4 separate regions of the Homo sapiens genome follow, and all the other regions are linked to region 1. Evidence: promoter capture Hi-C in 16 types of primary human blood cells and fetal thymus (Javierre and others, 2016). All regions are on one chromosome and are shown on one strand. The core of a region is centred on a gene start or on the middle of the fragment in contact, and the rest is flanking DNA. Distances in the headings are between cores, read along the strand shown. Region 1 holds the start of RASGEF1A (RasGEF domain family member 1A). Region 2 holds the start of LOC124902414 (a long non-coding RNA gene). Region 3 has its middle 8.6 kb from the start of FXYD4. Region 4 has its middle 9.6 kb from the start of FXYD4.

What was found. Contacts are between HindIII fragments. The CHiCAGO score rates a contact against its expected background, and 5 or more counts as called.
Region 2: a contact is called between a fragment that was not itself captured here and the fragment with the promoter of RASGEF1A in region 1, in 1 of 17 cell types (neutrophils). The highest score is 6.7, in neutrophils.
Region 3: a fragment that was not itself captured here is called in contact with the fragment with the promoter of RASGEF1A in region 1 in 1 of 17 cell types (neutrophils); the score reaches 5.9 in neutrophils.
Region 4: a contact is called between a fragment that was not itself captured here and the fragment with the promoter of RASGEF1A in region 1, in 1 of 17 cell types (neutrophils). The highest score is 8.1, in neutrophils.

What each region holds. Positions count from the first base shown.
Region 1 is chr10:43,264,670-43,269,713 of GRCh38, forward strand. RASGEF1A (RasGEF domain family member 1A) reads right to left here and starts at 2,396. Exons shown (of 13, transcript NM_145313.4): 1 at 2,176-2,396. RefSeq lists an enhancer at 1,026-1,901. The HindIII fragment of the contact is 10,296 bases long and covers 1-5,044 here.
Region 2 is chr10:43,331,951-43,336,542 of GRCh38, forward strand. The region is part of intron 2 of LOC105378271 (a long non-coding RNA gene); the gene reads left to right. LOC124902414 (a long non-coding RNA gene) reads right to left here and starts at 4,458. Exons shown (of 2, transcript XR_007062130.1): 1 at 4,036-4,458; 2 at 2,564-3,680. The HindIII fragment of the contact is 3,753 bases long and covers 1,196-4,592 here.
Region 3 is chr10:43,377,571-43,382,816 of GRCh38, forward strand. No RefSeq gene overlaps it. Among named protein-coding and RNA genes, the nearest start is that of FXYD4, 8.6 kb to the left of the region's middle. RefSeq lists a silencer at 3,231-3,280. The HindIII fragment of the contact is 9,118 bases long and covers 1-5,246 here.
Region 4 is chr10:43,359,665-43,364,489 of GRCh38, forward strand. No RefSeq gene overlaps it. Among named protein-coding and RNA genes, the nearest start is that of FXYD4, 9.6 kb to the right of the region's middle. RefSeq lists enhancers at 1,926-2,838, 2,436-2,525. The HindIII fragment of the contact is 3,108 bases long and covers 581-3,688 here.

The DNA of each region.
Region 1 (5,044 bases), core at 1,146-3,645:
AGGGGCAGCAGGGAGGGGTGGGGGAGAATGCCTTGAGTCTCCTCCCCATCTGCTATCTGCTATGCCCCTGGCACCTACCCCCAGCAGCCCAGCGCCCCTCCCCTGGGGTGGGCCATGCAGAGAAGAGCATCCCTCCACCAGCCCCTCTCCTGAGGACAGTGGGGGGGCCAAACCCCCTGCCCCCATCCCTGCCTTGGCACAGCACCTTCACTTGACCTATTTGACAAATAGGGCTTCTGTGAAACCCACGGTTCTATTGCCAAAAACCAAAGGCCAACCAAAGCTGTCCCATCCTGCCCCTGGCATCATTCTACAGGTGGGGACCGGCGTGCTCAGGGGCTCCTGGCCACACTGTGTCCCAGTGCCCACTCGCTCTCCTCCCTGGCTGGCCCCTCCCACCGCTGGGGGCCACTGTGTGCGTGGCTCTCCCCACCGCAGCCACTGTCCAGCACAAATGCCATTTCTCCCTCCTCCTCCTCCTCCCCTGCCTGCAGTTGCTAAGTTACACCAAAAAACCCCTCTGCTCTGTGTGAACTGTTCCATTTCCACGATTTGCCAGGTGGAAGGGAGCCATCCGGCTGGCAGCTCGAAGATGCCTCCCAGAGAAAAACAAACTCACTGGCTGGCCTTCAGGCCAAGGCACACCTGGGATACCTGCTTGGTTCACAAACCCAGGGGCATGTGCAGGAGGACACAGCTTCTCTACTTCACTAGAGAGCCTGGGGGATCCACACAGCTCATGCCCTTCTCAGGAGCAGGGAGTGTGGGCCTGCTGCACCCGCCTCGCTGGGTCACTACCACCCACAGCCCTAAGGACACACACTGGCTGGAGGGGCAGAGAACCCACCCACGTGTCCCTGGCCATCCAGCCAAGGTCCTCCATGTCCCCCTGCTCCGGATCTCCCCTTCCTGGGCTGGGGTCCTGAGGTTCCAAAGCAAAGTGTCACTGGACATCAGGGTGGAAATGTCCTCAGAGGTCATCAAAACCGTGTCAGTCTACAGATGGGGAAACTGAGTCTCAGAAGCCTGCAGCCTGCCCGTGGTTCACGAATCAAGACCTGTAGCCTTTCGGCTGGAGGCCCCCTAGAGCCGCTTAGAGTCCAGGGCACCGAGGTGGACAGGCTGGGCTGGCAAGACTGCATCCGGAGGGGGCGGGAGAACCCTGGGGGGACAGAGGGAACCAAGGCCTCTGGGAGGCTCCCCTGCACCCAGCCTGACTCCTGTGTTTCAGGATCCTGCGGCCGACGGCCATCGGGGCCCTTCCTGCGCAGGACAGTGGGAGAAGAGTGGCAGTGGTGGGGAGGGTGAACCAGGGAGAAGCTCACTGCTCTGAGCAGGGAGGGAGGGAGCCCCGGCCACCACCAGGTCTCTGCCCCCAGGTGGCTCCCAAGAGGCAGGCAGCGGCCTCTCTGTAAATATCCACCAGGTCCAGCACCCAGAGGCAGCCAGAAATGCAGGGCACAGGAACCTGCCAGCGCGTCCCTCCACACACAGCAGGGGACTCCCGCCCCCACCTCTCACTCACCGACCCTCGGACCAGAACCAGCTGCACCTGCCCCGTTCCTGGGGCCGGCAAGGCCTGGGGCAAAGAGAGCGTGGTCCTTCAAATGACCCTTGCCCAGCAGGGAGAGGGAGACACCTGGCATGGCCCTGGACCTCTCCCCCAAATGCAGAGCTCAAGCCCCAATTCCTCGCCAAACAGCAAGGGCGTGAGATACCACGGCGGGGCCCAGAATGCAGAAGAGCAAATGGAAACTTCCAACTGCGCAGCCCTGAGCTCCTCCGATTCCCCAGCCCCCACCCCCACGCCAGGCCCCGGGCAGCGAACCTGCCCGCAGTGCCCACGCCCGCCCGCCGCGTGCGCTCCTGCCACGCCCGGCCCGGCCCGGCCCGGCCCGCCAGGTGCCCTGAAGGGGCGGAGGGTGCAGGGGGTCCTGGCGCCGTCCAGCCCGGGGCGGAGTTCTCAGCAACTCCGCGCGCCGGGATCCCGGCCGCCCTCCCCGCGCGCGTCCCCCGCCCCGCGCCCGGAGCCCGCGCCCCGGCCCCACGACGGCCGCGCCGGGAGGGACCCCGGGCCCGCGCACGCCGCGCCCTGCCCGCGCCGGCGACCGGAGGGCACGGCCCCAGGCGCGGGCGGGGGCCCCGAGGCACTGAGGGTCCGCGGCCGCTGCCTACCTCGGTCCGGGCCAGCGTCGCTCCCGCGCCGCCCTCGCGCCGCAGTCGGGCCCCGAGCAGCGCGCGGCCGGCGCCGGCGGCGGCTCATGCTCGGCGCCCGGGCCCGCGGCACCCGCCCACCCGCGGCCGCCCCCGCGCTGCGCCAGCTGCGGGCAGAGCAGCTCCCTCCGCAGCCGGCGCCGGGGAGCGCGAGCGAGCGAGCGAACGAGCGAGCGCGGAGCGAGCGCCGAGCGGGCACGGAGCGGGCGCGAGAGCGCGGGGAGCGGGGGAGCGGGCGGGCGCGGGACGCGGAGGGAGGAGGGTGCGGGGCAAAGGTGCAGGGGGAGGTAGGGCGCGGGACGGGGCTCGAGCAGAGGGCACTGGGACAGGGCGGGCGCCGGGAGAGGGCGGCCAGGCTTTCATTTAAAAAGGATAAGGCATCACGCCTGTAATCCCAGCACTTTGGGAGGCCGAGACGGGCGGATCACGAGGTCAGGAGATCGAGACCATCCCGGCTAACACGGTGAAACCCCATCTCTACTAAAAATACAAAAAAAAAAATTAGCCGGGCGTGGTGGCGGGCGCCTGTAGTCCCAGCTACTCGGGAGGCTGAGGGAGGAGAATGGTGTAAACTCGGGAGGTGGAGCTTGCAGTGAGCCGAGATCGCGCCACTGCACTCCAGCCTGGGTAACAGAGTGAGACTCCGTCTCAAAAAAAAAAAAAAAAAAAAAAAAAAAAGGATCAGGCAGCAGACAAGCTAGGAGGCGATGCGGCCACCGCATTTAAAAGGCCCTCTGGGGACTCCCGCAGAGCTGGCAAAATTTTTGTCAGTGGAATCAGACGGTGAAAGCCCTTCTGTGGGCAAGTCCTGGCCCCTTGGGTCACTCCCCTTAACCATCTTAATCGCCCTGTAAGGTCGGTGGTGGATTTGTTCCCATTGGACAGGTTAGTAAACTGATGCACAGGGAGTGCGGTTACCCTGCAGGGTCTCAGAGCCTATAAGTGGCAGAGCAAGGCTCCAAAGCCACCTTGAAAGATTTCAGAACCACTAAAGCAGGACACAGGTCTTCTGGCGTCCACTGGAACTTCCTGTCGCTCTGAAGGGTCACCTTCTCTTGAACGGACACCCTGTGGCCTGACCCCAGGGTGGCCCAGAGTGACTCTTGCAGGCAGTCAGACGAGGGCCAGTGAGAAACAGGTCTGGGGCGACGATGTCCCCAGGTGGAGGGGTCTGTGTGAAAAAATGGGGAGGAGCCCCACAGCACCCCTTGAAGAGGCTGAGGACCTTGCTTACTCACTTAGTCCTTGTGTCTTGAACACCTGTATGCCAGGTGTAAGATGGGGCACTGGGATTCGGCTGTGAATGTCTCTGTCTGGTTGGAGTTTGCATTCTTGTGGGAAGTAGGCAGTGAATAAAAATACACATAAATAGTTCATGTGTCAGATGCTGCAGATCCCACAGAGAGGCCCAGCAGGGAGAGGGAGCCAGCGAAGGGAGGGGGAGGGGAGCTTGTAGGGTGGGGGATTCTTTTTTATTTTTTAAGGGGAGGTGTCACTGTGTGGCCCAGGCTGGAGTGCAGTGGCTATTCACAGGTGCAATCACTATGCTCTACAGCCTGGAACTTCCTGACTCTAGTGAGCCTCCTGCCTCAGCCTCCTGAGTAGCTAGAACTGTAGTTTCTCACCACCACCCTTCCCTGCTGGGTTGGGGATTTTATTTTGGGTGATCAGGGAAATCTTGGCTGAAAGGATCATATCTGAGCTAAGACCTAACTGAGGCAAGCTATGCTGAATCCGAGGAATGAACATTTTCAGCAAAGAGAACAGTACATGCAAAGGCCCTGAGGTGGAGGATGCCTTAGAAGGAGGCCAAGTGGAGATGAGTGAGTGTGGTAGAGAGGAGCCTGCAGGAGCTGCCAGGTGGACCATATCGCGAAGAGCCTGGCCAGCCATCAGCCCTCTGTGGCTTTGACTCAGAGGGAGGTGGAGGGTTTTGCACAAAGTAATATGATCTTACTATTTTTTACAAACAATATTTTATTATGTAAGATTTTAAACGCTTATAATAGTAACGGCTAAAAAGGTATATACAATAAACTCAATGGCCCAACTTCAACAATTATCAATACATGGCCAATTCTGTTTCATCTGTATGCCCACCTACCACTCCCCATATTATTTATTTGTTTACTCATTTTAAGTAAACTTTTATAGCTTTTTTTTTTTTTTGAGACAGGGTCTCATTCTGTCCCCCAGGCTAGAGTGCAGTGGCACAATCATAGCTCATTGTAGCCTCGAACTCCTGGGCTCAAGCAATCCTCCCGCCTCAGCCTCCCAAGGATAATTTTTTGTAAGTATAACATGCATAGACAAAAATCATAAAGTTGTGCTCCATGAATTTTCAATAAGAATACACCCATTCAGTGAGAATATTAATAGCTCTCTGCACCTGGATTTTCACTGTAGAAAGGTTTTTAATGACAGGTTCATTTTCTTTAATATATAGGACCATGTAGATTATTTGCTTCTTCCTATGTAACTTTTGCAAATTGTGTTTTTTATGGATTTTGCCCATTTTCTCTAAATTTTCAGATTTTCTGACATCCTCATATTGTTGTTTATAACATCTTTTATATTATCCCGCAGATGTTTGTAGAATCTGTAGCTATGTCCCACTTGGATTCTGATATTGGGGACCTCTGTGTTTTTCACTCTCTTTTTTTGATCAGTCTTGTTAGGGTTTTGTCAGTTTTATAATTTTTTTTAAAGAAACAACTTTTGACTTTGTTCAGCTTTCTCTGTTGTACTTTCTATTTCATGAATCTCTGCTCTTAGTTTCATTGTGTTTGTAGCTCTCCTTTGGGGGAGTATTAACTGTCTTTCTCTCATT
Region 2 (4,592 bases), core at 1,822-4,321, 68 kb after region 1:
CTCAAGCAAATTACGCTCAGTGAAAAAGAGCCAGTTCAAAAGGCCATATACTGTGTGATTCCATTTATATAACATTTTTGAAATGACAAAATAGACAGATGAAAATCAGATTAGCAGTTGCCAGGGTTTAGGGGCAGAGGAGGAGGGGGCGGACATAGGTAAAGGGTTAGCATGAAGGACTTCTGTGGTGATAATTATTCTGTATCTTGATTGTGGTGCTGGTTACACGAACCTACACATGTGATAAAATTGCATTGAACTATTCACACGCATACATACAACACACACAAGTGAGTGCATGTGACACTGATGAAGTACAAACAAGCTCTGAGGACTGTATCAACATCAGCGTCCTGGCTTTGATATTAAACCATAGTTAGAGAAGATGTTATCATTGGGGGAAACTGGGTGAAACGTACACGAAACTTCCTCGAACTTTTTTTTTTTTTTGCAACTTCCTGTGGGTTTATAATCATTTCGAAATTTATCCTCTTTTTTTTTTTGAGACAGAGTCTCACTCTGTCACCCAGGTTGGAGTGCAATAGCCTGATCTCGGCTTACTGCAACCTCTCCCTCCCAGGTTCAAGCAATTCTTCTGTCTCAGCATCCCATGTAGCTGGGATTACAGGCACGCACCACCACACCCGGCTAATTTTTGTATTTTTAGTAGAGATGGGGTTTCAACATGTTGGCCAGGCCGGTCTTGAACTCCTGACCTCAAGTGATCCGCCAGCCTTGGCCTACCAAAGTGCTGGGATTACAGGCATGAGCCACTGCACCTGGCCCAAATTTTAAAATTCTTAACATATATTATTTTTAAAATGCTTCTCCACCCACTCCTCTCCACCGCTGTACTTCTGTTGCTATCTCAGGCAGTGGTCCATGAAGGCCAGCACCACAAATAAAGCTACAACTGCTCAGTGTTTATGTAACACCCAGATAAAACCACCCCCACCCTTCTCCATGTCATCTCAATGTAGTGACATAGCCAAAAGTAACGCAGGTCCAAAACCCTGAGCAGTCATGGAGAGCTTTGCTTCAAGTTTTCTTGGGAGGACTGTGGAGAGTAGGCTCCCATCTCATGATGCAAAGCAAAACTTCCTGATGTCGTCCTTCCCACCCCCGACCAAAGCTGCGCTTTAAAGCAGATCCTCCAGTATCTCCTCCCCTCTCCCCATCTGCTTCTCTCCCCCTAAGCTTCCAGCCTTCTCTTCCTCTCCCCTCCCATCCCCTCCAACAGGACTGCTGGATTTCCGGCAAAAACTCCCAGGTCTGTTCTAACATGGATCAGCCTGGGCTCTTCCCATCTCTGCCCACTCCCACAGCAAAGGCCCCATAAGGAGCAGCCAAACACTCGCACCTCCTCATGACACAAAGGAAAGGGAAGGCTGTGAACAGCCACTTGCGCTGTAGCATTTTTGTTTCTGTTTTTTTTTTAAAAAAAAATGGGTAGGCCGGGCACGGTGGCTCACGCCTGTAATCCCAGCACTTTGGGATGCCAAGGCAGGCAGATCACAAGGTCAGGAGTTCGAGACCAGCCTGACCAACATGGTGAAACCCCATCTCTACTAAAAATACAAAAATTAACCGGGTGTGGTGGCACGCAACTGTGATCCCAGCTACTTGGGAAGCTGAGGCAGGAGAATTGCTTGAACCCGGGAGGCAGAGGTTGCAGTGAGCTGAGATTGCGACGATGCACTCCAGCCTGGGTGACAAAGCAAGACTCTGTCTCAAAAATAAATAAATAAATAAATAAAATGGATAAAAGATTTGGAGAATCACCTCAGCAAAGAAGATAAGCTGATGGCAAATAAGCACAGGAAAAGATGCTCAACATCATTAGTCATTAGGGAAACACTCATTGAAACCATGAAGAGACACCGCGACACACCCACTAGGATGGCTACAACCAAAGAGACTCACCATGGCAAGTGGTAGTGAGGGTGTGAAGAAACTGGGACATTCATGCACTGCTGGTGGGAATGTGAAATGGCACAACCATTTCGGAAGACAGTTTGGCAGGTTCTTATGAAGTTAAGCATACAGCCAGGGATGGTGGCTCACACCTAATACTTTGGGCTTTGGGAGGTGGAGGAGGGTGGATGGCTTGAGCCCAGCCCAGGAGTTAGAGACTAGCCTGGGTAACATGGCGAGACCCTGTTTTGCCATGTCACCCAGGCTCTGTCAACCAGGCTGGAGTGCAGTGGCACAATCTCCACTCACTGCAACTTCCACCTCCCAGGTTCAAGCGATTCTCCTGTCTCAGCCTCCCAAGTAACTAGGATTACAGGTACGTGCCACCACAATGTGCTAATTTTTGTATTTTAGTAGAGATGGGGTTTCACCATGTTGGCAGGCTAGTCTTGAACTCTTGACCTCAGGTGATCCACCCACCTCAGCCTCCCAAAGTGCTGGGATTACAGGCGTGAGCCACGCGCCTGGCCTGCAAGACCCTGTTTCCAAAAATAAAAAAGTTAAACCTGCCATATGACTCAGTCACTTCACTCGTAGGGATTTACCCAGGTTTCATGAAAACATAGTCCACACAAGACCTGCACAGTAATATGTATAGACACTTTATTGGTAATAGTTAGAAACTGGAAACAACCCAAGTGTCCATCAACAGAAGAATGCAGCCAGGCACAGTGGCTCATCCCTGTAGTCCCAGCACTTTGGGAGGCTGAGGTGGGCGGATCATGAGGTCAGGAGTTCAAGACCAGTCTGGCCAACATGGTGAAACTCCACCTCTACTAAAAATACAAAAATTAGCGGCACATGGTGGCATGTGCCTGTAATCCCAGCTACTCGGGAGGCTGAGGCAGGAGTATCGATTAAACCCGGGAGGCGGAGGTTGCAGTGAGCTGAGATAGAGCCACTGGGCAACAGAGCAAGACTCCATCTCGGGGGCAAAAAAAAAAAAAAAAGAAGAATGCATAAATTATGGCACATCCATGCTATGGAATACTGTTTAGCAATTTTAAAAGAATGAACTGCACTCCAACCTGGGTGACAGAGCAAGACCCTGTCTAAAAAAGAAAAAAAGAAAAAATAATAATAAACTATTGATATTCACATCACTACAGATAAATCTCAAAATAATTATGCTAATGGAAAGAAGCCAGACAAAAGAGTACACATTGTATGATTCCATCTATATAAAATTCTAGAAATCGCAAATGAATCAAACAGAAAGCAGATCAGTGCTTGCCTGTGGCATTGCCTTGCCTCTCCAAGGGGTCCTTGGGGGAGGGAGAAAAGGATCACAGAAGGGCATAAGGAAAGTTTTCAGTGATGGATGTAGTCATTTTTTTGATTGTGGTGATTATTTCACCGGGTATATATATATATATATTCTTCCAATTTTGGCCGAGTGCGGTGGCTGTCACCTATAATCCCAGCACTTTGGTAGCCTGAGGCAAGAGGACTCCTTGAGCCCAGGAATTCAAGACCAGGCGTGGTGTAGCCGGGCGTGGTGGTGCACACCTGTAGTCCCAGCTACTCAGGAGGCTGAGGTGGGAGCATTTCTTGCGCCCAGGAGGTGGAGGTTGCAGTACGCTACGATCATGCCACTGCACTCTAGCGTGGGTGACAGAGCTCACTTGAATCTGGGAGGCAGAGTTTGTGGTGAGCCAAGATTGTGCCATTGCACTCCAGCCTGGGCAACAAGTATGAAACTCCGTCTAAAAAAAAAAGAAAAGAAAAAAAAGAAATCAATGTGGCTGCTCTCAAAACACCAGATACGTCTATTGAATCATGCATAGAACCTGGGAAAGGGACCTCTGGGTGGATTCCTGAATGCAGTGGACCTACAGTGAGTTGGGCCTGGGTCAAAACTCTATTGCCTAACTCTCATATAGCCCCAACACTACCAGGGGACCACAATAAGGCTTTGGGTCCCTGGGTATCAATGCCAAGATGGATTCTGTGTCTAGCAGCACTTGAAATGTTTAAATTCCTCTTTACCTAGTATGTGGCAACTCTAGTAAATAGCCATAAGTGCCACTGGGGAAGAACTGAGGAATCATGACCACTCACTCACTGCCGTGAAGGAGTTGTTCCTCCTGGAAACCCAGCCTCTCCTTCAGGCACTGGGGTCTGGTCTGAAGTTTTTCACTGGGGTAGCTGCCCTCAGCCTCCATCTCCCATCTTGGATTTCTTTTGGTTGTGTAGATTAAGCAATGACTTTGTGGGCTGTTCTCCTCCTTGGCCACAGGAATAACCTGCTCAATTCGCCACCTCCACAGCTCTGGGAAGGTCGGATGTCCCTGGCTGCCACAGCAATGTTGGCACCTCTGCTTAGAGAGGGCCATGCTTTCTCCAAGCCTCCAGGGGCTACACAGGCAGCATGTTGGCCCCACCTCCTGGGCTCTTTCTAGGATGTTATATCCTGTATCTTAGAAGAGTGTTCTCACAGCAGCCTGGGCAACATAGTGAGACCCCCATCTCTACAAAAAATAGAAAAAGTTAGCCCGTGATGCTGGCACATGCCTGTAGCCCCAGCAACTCAGGAGGCTGAGGTGGAAGGACTGCTTTGAAGTCAAGGCTGCAGTGAGCCATGATCGCACCACTGCACTCCAGCCTGGGCAACAGAG
Region 3 (5,246 bases), core at 2,163-4,662, 110 kb after region 1:
AGCCCTGCAGGACGCAGAGGCAGGGGTGGGAGCCACCCAGCAGGGCTGGTAGAAGGGGGCTCCTGAGCACGCCTCCTCATCCAGGGGGTGCAGTGCAGAGCTCTCTCCTCGTTGGCACGGGAAGACGCTGGTGTGAGAGACTGCTTTTGAGAACATGAAAAGTGCGGTAAGAAAGCCAAGTCTGGAGTGGCAGACCCAGGGGAAGCCACACAAAGGTGACCGGAAGCAGTGCATGCTTTCTGACTGAGGAACCCAGGGCCACGCAGTCACGACTATCAGGAGCTCTGCTGTTTGAAATCCTAGCAAACCCTGTCCTTGCATGGTGGCCCCATGACCCTGACAAGAGATGCAGCCTCAACTTCCAACCCCAGTGCCCCACTGGGGAGCAGAGGTTTCTGGACGTGACAGCCACCCACCTCCACCTTCACATGTATCCTGGGGCCACGTCGTGGTGGAGACCTGCCGCTCTTCTTTCAAGCTCTCATGCTGCTTCATTTAAACTTCTCCTGGACAGGTGTCACAGTTCCCCCAAGTCCTATAAGTGACCACTTATGTAGGAGGCCCCACCACACGAGTCCCTAGGTGTGACTGTCCAGTGACAGGCTTATCTCTCTGATGTGGAGGGTGACGGCTCTCGCTCATGGAACCTGGGAAAATCATGGTGGGAGGAGTCAGAAACTGATGGGAGGCCAGGTCTGGATGACAGTGGAGGATGGAGTCAGTGTTAGCCCCAGATGGACAAGGCCAGGCCCTGGAGTTGGGACCCTGGTTCCCAGGGGAAACGAGCTCTCCTCTCTCCCTTCTGGGAGTGAGGAATGGGCTGACTAGGGCATGACAGAGGCTCTCCAGGCTTCCCTTTGTGGGATTACTGGCTGTGCGTCAGAGACCCCTTCCTGGGGCCTGTTTCAGAGCTGGTGGGTGATTTCCCCTTGTCATCCTCTCCTAGTTGAGGGGCTGTGGGGAGAGGTAGGGGGGACCAGAGAAAGCAAAGTGTCATTTCCACTCAATTGGGGATTTACTGAGTGACAGACACCACTGTAAACACTTCACACATGTCAAATTTTCCTAGCAACCTATGTGATGCGGATGACATTAGGGTTAGGGTTAGGTTAGAGGAGAGGAGGCACCCAGAGGTTCTCATGGGCTAACGAATTCCACAGCCAGCCTCCAACCCTGGTGTCCTGCTCCTGAGCCCTGTTTCCAAAGGACTGGGGCCTGTTGCCTTCCCGATGTTTATCATTGTCAAAGACAGAGCCCAGGGACTGTGCTGCTGGGTGACTATACATCCTTCCTCACTTTTTTATTTTAAAAATCTTTTATTTTTCAGGGCTGGGTTCAGTGGCTCACGCCTGTAATCCCAGCACTTTGGGAGGCCGAGGTGGGAGGATCATTTTGAGGTCCAGAGTTCAGGAGCAGCCTGGCCAACATGGTGAAACCCTGTCACTACTAAAAATACAAAAATTGGCCGGGTGCAGTGGCTCATGCCTGTAATCCTAGCTACTCAGGAGGCTAAGGTGGGAGGATCACTTGAACCCAGGATGTGGAGGTTGCAGTGAGCCGAGATCGCACCACTGCACTCCAGCCTGGGTGACAGACCGAGACTCTGTCTCCAAAAAAAAAAAAAAAGAAAGAAAGAAAACAAACATCACAGAGACATTTACTCACAAAGTAAACCAACTTCTAACCTAGCACCCCAAAATAATCAAGTTTAAAAGTTTGCAAAAAAAAAAAAATTGTTCTCTAGTCTTTCAGATCATCTTTTCCCTCTTGTACCTGGGAGTTGGCCTTGTGAGTTTGGAATCAGAACTCAGGCTATTGCCAGGCACAGTGGCTCAAGCCTGTAATCCAAGCACTTTGGGAGGCTGAGGCGGGCAGATCACCTGAGGTCGGGACCAGCCTGACCAACATGGTGAAACCCCGTGTCTAGTAAAAATAGAAAATTAGCTGGGCGTGGTGGCACATGTCTGTAATCCCAGCTACTCAGGAGGCTGAGGCAGGAGAATTGCTTGAATCCGGGAGGCGGAGGTTGCAATGAGCTGAGATCGTGCCATTGCACTCCAGCCTGGCAACAGAGTGAGACTCGGTCTCAAAAAAAAAAAAAAAAAGGTATTGTTTCAGAACCCAAAGGTGAGGACTAGAGAAAGGACTTATTATTCTGATTTAAAATAATACTTTTTTTTTTTTTTTTTTTTGAGACAAAGTCTGGCTCTGTCGCCCAGGCTGGGGTGCAGTGATGCAATCTCATCTCACTGCAACCTCTGCTTCAGCCTCCCAAGTAGCTGGAACTACAGGCACATGCCACCACACCCGGCTATATTTTTTGTAGAGATGAAGTCTCGTCATGTTGCCCAGGCTAGTCTCAAACTCCTGAGCTTAAGCCTCCCAAAGTGCTAGGAATACAGGCGTGAGCCATGGCACCCAGCTCTCTTTTTTTAATTTCTGTATTTTTTTTATTTTCTTCTTTTTTTTCTTAAAACTGGGTCTCACTCTCTCACCCAGGCTGGAGTGCAGTAGCATGATTACAGCTCATGGCAGCCTCAACCTCCCAGGCTAAAGCAATCTTCCCACTTCAGCCTCCAGATTAGGTAGGACCACAGGCGCGTGTCACTATGCCCAGCAAATTTTTTCTTTTGAGATGGAGTTTCGCTCTTGTTGCCCAGGCTGGAGTGCAATGGCATGATCTCGGCTCACCACAACCTCTGCCCCCTGGGTTCAAGTGATTCTCCTACCTCAGCCTCCTGATTAGCTGGGATTACAGGCATGTGCCACCATGCCTGGCTAATTTTGTTTTTTTTTTTTAGTAGAGACGGGGTTTTTCCATGTTGGTCAGGCTGGTCTCGAACTCCCAGCCTCAGGTGATCCACCCACCTCAGCCTCCCAAAGTGCTGGGATTACAGGCAAGAGCCACTGCACCTGGCCCAGCTAATTTTTTTTATGTAGAGATGGGCTCTCACTGTGTTGCCTAGGCTGGTCTGGAACTCCTGCGTTCAAGCAATCCTCCCACCTCAGCCTCCCAAAATGCTGGGACTACAGGCGTGAGCCACAGCACCTGGCCTGCATCTTTTTTCTCAACTAAAACAAAACAAACTAAAACAAAACTAAAACAACTAAAACAAAACAAACTAAAACAAAACAAACTAAAACAACTAAAACAAAACAAACTAAAACAAAACAAAACAAAAAAACCTTACATTTAAGATAATTGTAGATTCACATGCAATTGTAAAAAATAATGGGGAGAGATAAGCCAGTTTCCCCCAGTGGCAACTTCTTGCATAGCTATAGTACACTATATCACAGCAGAATATTGAAACTGCTAGAAGCATTGGCCTTACTGAGATTTCACCAGTGTTACATCACTCATTTGTGTGTGTATGTACGTTTAGTTCTGTGCAACTTTATCACCTGTGATGCCTGTGACCACCACAGTCAAGATCTGGACCAGTTCATTACCAGGATCCCTCATGCTCCTCTTTTATAGCCAAACCCATTTCCCTCCCTACTTAGGCCCCCTAGGCCTAACCTCTGGCAACCACTAAACTGTCCTCTATCTCTATAGTTTTGTTATTTCGAGAATGTTAGGACCGGGCACGGTGGCTCACACCTGTAATCCCAAAACTTTGGGAAGCCGAGGCAGGTGGATCATCTAAGGTTAGGGGTTCGAGACCAGCCTGACCAACATGGTGAAACCCTGTCTCTACTAAAAATACAAAATTAGCCAGGTGTGATGGCAGGCGCCTATAATCCCAGCTACTCGGGAGGCTGAAGCAGATGAATCACTTAAACCCAAGAGGAAGAGGTGCACTGCATTCCAACCTGGGCAATAGAGTGAGACTCCGTCTCAAAAAAAAGAAAAAAAAAGTGTTAGGCTGGGTGTGGTGGTGCATGCCTGTAGTCCCAGCTACTTAGGATGAGGCAGTTGGATCACTTGAGAGTTTGAGGCTGCAGTGAGCCGTGATCGCGATCATGCCACTGCACTCGAGCCTGGGTGACAGAGCAAGGCCCAGTCTCAAAAAAAAAAAAAAAAAAAAAAAGAGAGAGCTATCATCTCACCACTGCTCTTTAGCTCTTTAGCATGGGCAACAGAGTAAGATTCCTTTTTTTTTTTTTTTTTTTTTTAGAGACGGAGTCTCGCTCTGTCACCAGGCTGGAGTGCAGTGGCATGATCTCGGCTCACTGCACCCTCCGCCTCCTGGGTTCAAGAATTCTCCTGCCTCAGCCTCCTGAGTAGCTAGGACTACAGGCGTGTGCCCCCACGCCCAGCTAATTTTTGTAATTTTAGTAGAGATGGGATTTCACCATGTTGGCCAGGATGGTCTGGAACTCCTGACCTCAGGTGATCCGCCCGCCTCGTCCTCCCAAAGTGCTGAGATTATAGGTGTGAACCACCGCGCCCAGCCCAATTCTTTTAAAAAAACAAAAACTGATAATAAAACTGAGATGCCTTGAGACTTGATGCATCTGTCAGCACCCAAATCATGAGGGTGGTCTTAGTGCAGGTGACTTATCTCCCATACTGCTAAGTACTTGGGGGCAGCTTCTTGAAAGGTAACTAGGCTGGGCATGGTGGCTCATGCCTGTAATCTCAGCACTTTGGGAGGCTGAGGTGGGCAGATAGCCTGAGGTCAGGAGTTTGAGACCAGCCTGGCCAACATGGTGAAACCCTGTCTCTACTAAAAATATGAAAATTAGCCAGGTGTGGTGGTGGGTGCCTGTAATCCCAGCTACTTGGGAGGCGGAGACAGAAGAATCGCTTGAACCTGGGAGACGGAGATTACGGTGAGCTGAGATCGCGCCACTGCACTCCAGCCTGGGCAACAGAACGAGACTCCGTCTCAAAAAAAAAAAAAGAAAGAAAAAGAAAAGAAAGGTAACTAGCCCTCTCCTGCAGAAAACGTGGCCTTGATTCAGAACACTCAGAGTTTCAGGGTTTGGCCTGAGTGTTTACTGAGACTTATCAGAGGTGCCACATGAAATCATTTAGGAACACAGGTACCTCTTTGATGGGGCCTATGCTGTCATTTGTAGCAGATGGCAGAGGAGCTGGTGGAGTCCTTGCATCCTTCTGGTCACCTGATAATTAGCAGGAGTAGTATTTCCTTTTTTTTTTTGAGACAGGGTCTCACTGTCATCCAGGCTGAGGTGCAGTGGTGCAATCTTGGCTCACTGCAACCTCCGCCACCTGGGCTCAAGCGATCCTCCCACCTCAGCCTCCCAAGTAGCTGGCCTACAGGTGTGAGCCACCA
Region 4 (4,825 bases), core at 885-3,384, 95 kb after region 1:
GTACTCCAGCCTGGGCGACAGAGCAAGACTCAGTCTCAAAAATAGAAGACTTCCAAGAATAAAAATATATTACTTAGGTTAAGTTCGGTGGGTGACAGAGGAAGGAAATAGACTCAACTCAGGCCAAAAAAAAAAAAAAGGAGGCGGCAATATGGAGTAACTAATATTAAACAAGAGTTAAGTAAATCTTCAAATGGAGATTTGGAATAAAAATAGTATGGTGCAACAAGAGCGAAACTCCATCTCAAAAAAAAATGGTATGTATGGTGTTCAGATTCCACTAGATATATTACAACTCATGTAGCCATTTTACTTTAAAATATAAATATTAAAACATACCAGAAATTGTATCTTTTGCAACTATTTGAGCTTATGATGAGAAACTTTAGCAACATAAAACTGTGGAATGGATATGTGGTTTTTCAGAAATGAGAGCAAACATTCAAAGACTACTCTATTACATAAATACGGGAATAGAAGAGTGGCCCAGAAACGAAATAGCAGGAGCTTCTAGGGTTCAGCAAGAGAGGGCTGAGGGAGACTGCCCAAGAAGGGATTGAAGCGGGGCCTAGAATGCCAAAGCTTGTACTGCACTTTACGTGTGTCACAGGAGGACAGAAAGGGGTGAGTCACAGAGCTGTTTAGGAGGCAGAATGGACAAGAATTGTTTGATTGGTTATGGGGATTTGGAGGCAAATAAAGTCTAGGATGATGCTCAGGCCTTCGGCTTTACCACTTGGATGGAGCACAGAGAGTAGGCGGGGTGGTTTAAAGAAGAAACCAAGTATTTATTTCAGGAAATGTCAAGTTTCAGCAAACTATGAGACATGCATGTGGAGACAGGAGGCAGGCAGTGGGCCTGGTGGTCTCCAGCTAAGGAGAGAGGTCAGAGAGGTGAGTTTCCAGGAGGGAGCAGCCAAATCTCAGAGCCTGCTGAGGGGGTTAAGACCTAATTATCCATCCAAAAGTGTATCCATCCACCCAAATATTACTCAGTTATTTTATTTATTTTTGAGACAGAGTCTCGCTCTGTCGCCAGGCTGGAGTGCAGTGGCGCGATCTCAGCTAACTGCAACCTCCGCCTCCCGGGTTCAAGCAGTTCTCCTGCCTCAGCCTCCCGAGGAGCTGGGATTACAGGTGCGCCACCACGCCCAGCTAGTTTTTGTATTTTTAGTAGAGACGGGGTTTCACCATGTTGGCCAGGATGGTCTCGGTCTCTTGACCTCATGATCCACCAGCCTCAGCCTCCCAAAGTGCTGGGATTACAGGCGTGAGCCACCGCGCCCGGCCAATTTATTTATTTTTATTGAGACGGGGTCTTGTCATTTTGCCCAGGCTGGTCTCGAAGTCCTGGGTTCAAGGGATCCACCTGCCTAGGCCTCCCAGTGCTGGGATTACAGGCGTGAGCCATGGCGCCCTTTCTACTCAAGTGATTTATCAATCATTTTACTCAATAGTTAATTCACACATCCATCCAGTTCCCACAATGAATTCCATCCATGTGCCAAGGTCTCTGGGACAGGAAGCTGAGTGACCTGAAATCACAGCCCTGGGAGAAAAGGGAGGTGAGTGGTCAAGACAGATACACCCATACCTGTGATGTGGGGTTTGGGAAAGGTGGGCCTCCCAGAGGGGAGGCAGGTGAACAGGAAAGGTGGCTTCCCAGGTGAGGCAATTGTTGAATTGGACAGAGTGGAAATGGCTCACAGTGGTCCTTGGGAGAGGATGAGAATTAGGATGGAGAGAAAAGATTGAATACGTGAGATATGGAAGAACTAGAAGGATGGGCTCTCACTGGGGGGGCGGGGGGGACAGGGAACCGAGTTGCCTAACTTCCCTTTGGTGGAGTCAGACTGTATGCTGAGCGCTGTGACTTTGGACCACTGTCCATGTCCTTGAGGGGGTCATATCCTGAGGAGCTGGCACACATTTCAGCAGATATCTCCATATGACTGGGTTTAGTGGTGGCCTGTGGGACCACGTGGGAAAGAGACCCACCTGAGATGGGAAATTCTGAAAGGTCAGAGATGGTGGGGGAACGGAAAAGTTTAACAGTTGTTGACTGTGAAGTGCCTGCAGGAAATGAAAGGGAGGTGCCCAAGAGCTAAGAAGTCTGGTATAGGAGAAGCATGAGTAGGAGCTGCAACAGGGGGCTAAGAGGTGACCTGTGCAGTAGAAGGAAAGCACTCGCGTTCTCCCAGGTGCGGAACGAGCAAACGTTGATGACAAATGACTTTGCCTACCATCTTGAACCCTTTCGGCTTCTCTTCTTGCACAGGTCTTCATTCTCACCCTGCTACACAGCCCCTACCAGAACGTTCTGAAATGCAAACCTAACAACTGTCTCACCCCAGCAGGAAACTCCCCAGGGTCCCGGGCCCCCTGCGGGGTTGCAGGCCTCACTCTTCGCGCCCATCCCTCCGCCCTGACCGCCCTGAGCTCGCCCCCAGTGCTGGCCCTTCACGTCCAGTTATCCCTCCCAGCCTCCAAGGTCCCCGTTACCGAAGACCGCCACCATCACGACATAGCGCAGCACATATGGGTAAACAAATGGACTGAGACTCAAGCAAAGAAGTAACCCGAGACGCGCGTTACACGGAAAACGACTGCGCAAGCGCGGTAGAGCAGGGGCTTGCAGGTGAGTGGGAGCAGCCAATCCACGCGAAGGGGGTCGGGACCACTTCCGCGGAGGAAAGCCCCGCCCACACCTCCTGGGCCCTCGCCTCACTGGCGGTTTCTCCCGCGAGCCAGCCTCATAGACATTCCTTGGTGCTGATTGGCTGGCGGCCAGCGCAGTCCTCCTTCCTCTGGCTCTCTCGCGGCCCCTTGCGGGAAGGCCTCCCAGAGGCCGTGGGGTCGTTTCTGGCGGCCTAAGTGGGCCTAACTTTTAGAGTCCCGAGGGTCGTCGCTGCCGGGGAGATCTCCGCCCCATTTCCGTGCCGCCTTGTCCTCAGGGCCCAAAGCCCCCTGCGCTAAGGGCCCTGTCCCATCTCTGCCCTACACGCGGGAGTCAGCCTAAGGCGGAGCCCTAGGACAGCAGCCGCGCCTGACGCTGCTCGCCTGCCTAGCACAGGCAGGGGGTGAGCGGAGTCGGCTGCCTCCCTCCCCAGGGCCCTCCAAGGGAGTGGGCTCCACATCCATGGGCCCGAGGAATCTGCGGAGAGACGGGAAGAGCAGGGGACACTCACAGGGCGGGGGTCCAGGCGGGAGTCCAGTAGTCCTCGTGGAGACAGCTGGGAAAGGCCTCGGGGCAAGGGACCTCGGATTTCCTCCTCTGCCTCAAAACAGACAGTCTAAGCTGGGTGCGGTAGCTTGCGCCTGTAATCCCAGCACTTTGGGAGGACGAGTTGGGTGGACCACCAAGTCAAGAGATGGAGAACCATCCTGGCCAACATGGTGAAACCCCATCTCTACTAAAAATTAGCCGGGCGTGGTGGCGCGCGCCTGTAGCCCCTGCTACTTGGGAGGCTGAGGCAGGAGAATCGCTTGAACCTGGGAGGCAGAAGTTGCAGTGAGCCGAGATTGCGCCTCTGCACTCCAGCCTGACAACAACAGAGCAAGACTCCGTCTCAAAAAAAAAAAAAAAAAAAATGACCACGCACAGGCAGCAAGGGGCAGGGGGTGGTCCACGCTCAGCCTTCAGTACACATTTGTGGAATTAATCCCTCCCAGGACAGGTTGTGAAGAAAGCTTGTTAACCTCAAGATTCAGAAGCACCGTTCACAGCACAAGCTTTGGAGTCAAATTCAGGCTGTTAACTTGCTGCGTGCGCCCCCGACTTACCTCTTTCTGCCTGTTTGCTCATCCGTAAAATGGGAACTGTGACTGAGTCTACTTTGAATCTGATTATGCTGCATGAACTCAGAAGACAGGGCTCAGTTGAGTGACTGCTCAGTTTACAAGAGCTGTTACTGTAGTTGGGAAGCGCCCTGAGACATACATGGTAAGATTGGTAACCTAGGATAAAGGGGGCCACCATGAGAGAGACCCCAGAGGGAAACTGTTCCAGAGAAGAGAAATGTCTTGCTAAGGTCACACTGCCCTGGTAGCGAGCACAGGGCAGCCTGCTCCGCCCAAGTTTCCAGCCTTCTCAGCTGAGTTCTGGCCCATCAGGCTAAGCCGGAGACTAAGCCTCAAGAAAGCAGGCATTCGTAGGAAAGGGGTCCTGTAAGTCCCAAAAGCCACCTTTGCTTTGGAAGGTCTCCAAAAGGAACCTCAGATGCACTTCTCCAGAAGGCCCTAGCATTTTTGCCTGCCCCCATCCCCACCCCGCAACAACTTCTGCCCTCTTCAGGGATCCACCATTCCTATTCCTATTGCTGTGAGGTATTATAACCTTTAACAGGTGGAAAGAAAACTTCACCTCAGCCAGGTGGTATTGATACCCATCCAAGGCAGGGGACAAGTTGAGGCTTGGACAGATCCAGAGATTGGGAATCCAGGTCTTTGAGTGTACCTTCTGCAAGCACAATGGTACATCACCTCATCCACGGTGTGTACCATGCCTTAGCACTGTGTGCCCTCTGAGAGGCCCCCAATTTCTGGCCACACACTCAATCTGCAGCAACACCTTTTACACTGGAAGTGATGCAAAGTCAGTCCCTGGGTTAATGAACATATCTTCTTAGGTATTAAACCCAGTATTTATAAATAAATGACCACAGAATGGTGTAGAAAACTTTAAAAGTTTTGGATATTAAGTGTTGGCTGGGCCAGGCGCGGTGGCTTACGCCAGCACTTTGGGATGCCAAGGCGGGCGGATCACTTGAGGTCAGGAGTTCAAGACCAGCCTGGCCAACATGATGAAACCCTGTTGTCTCTACTA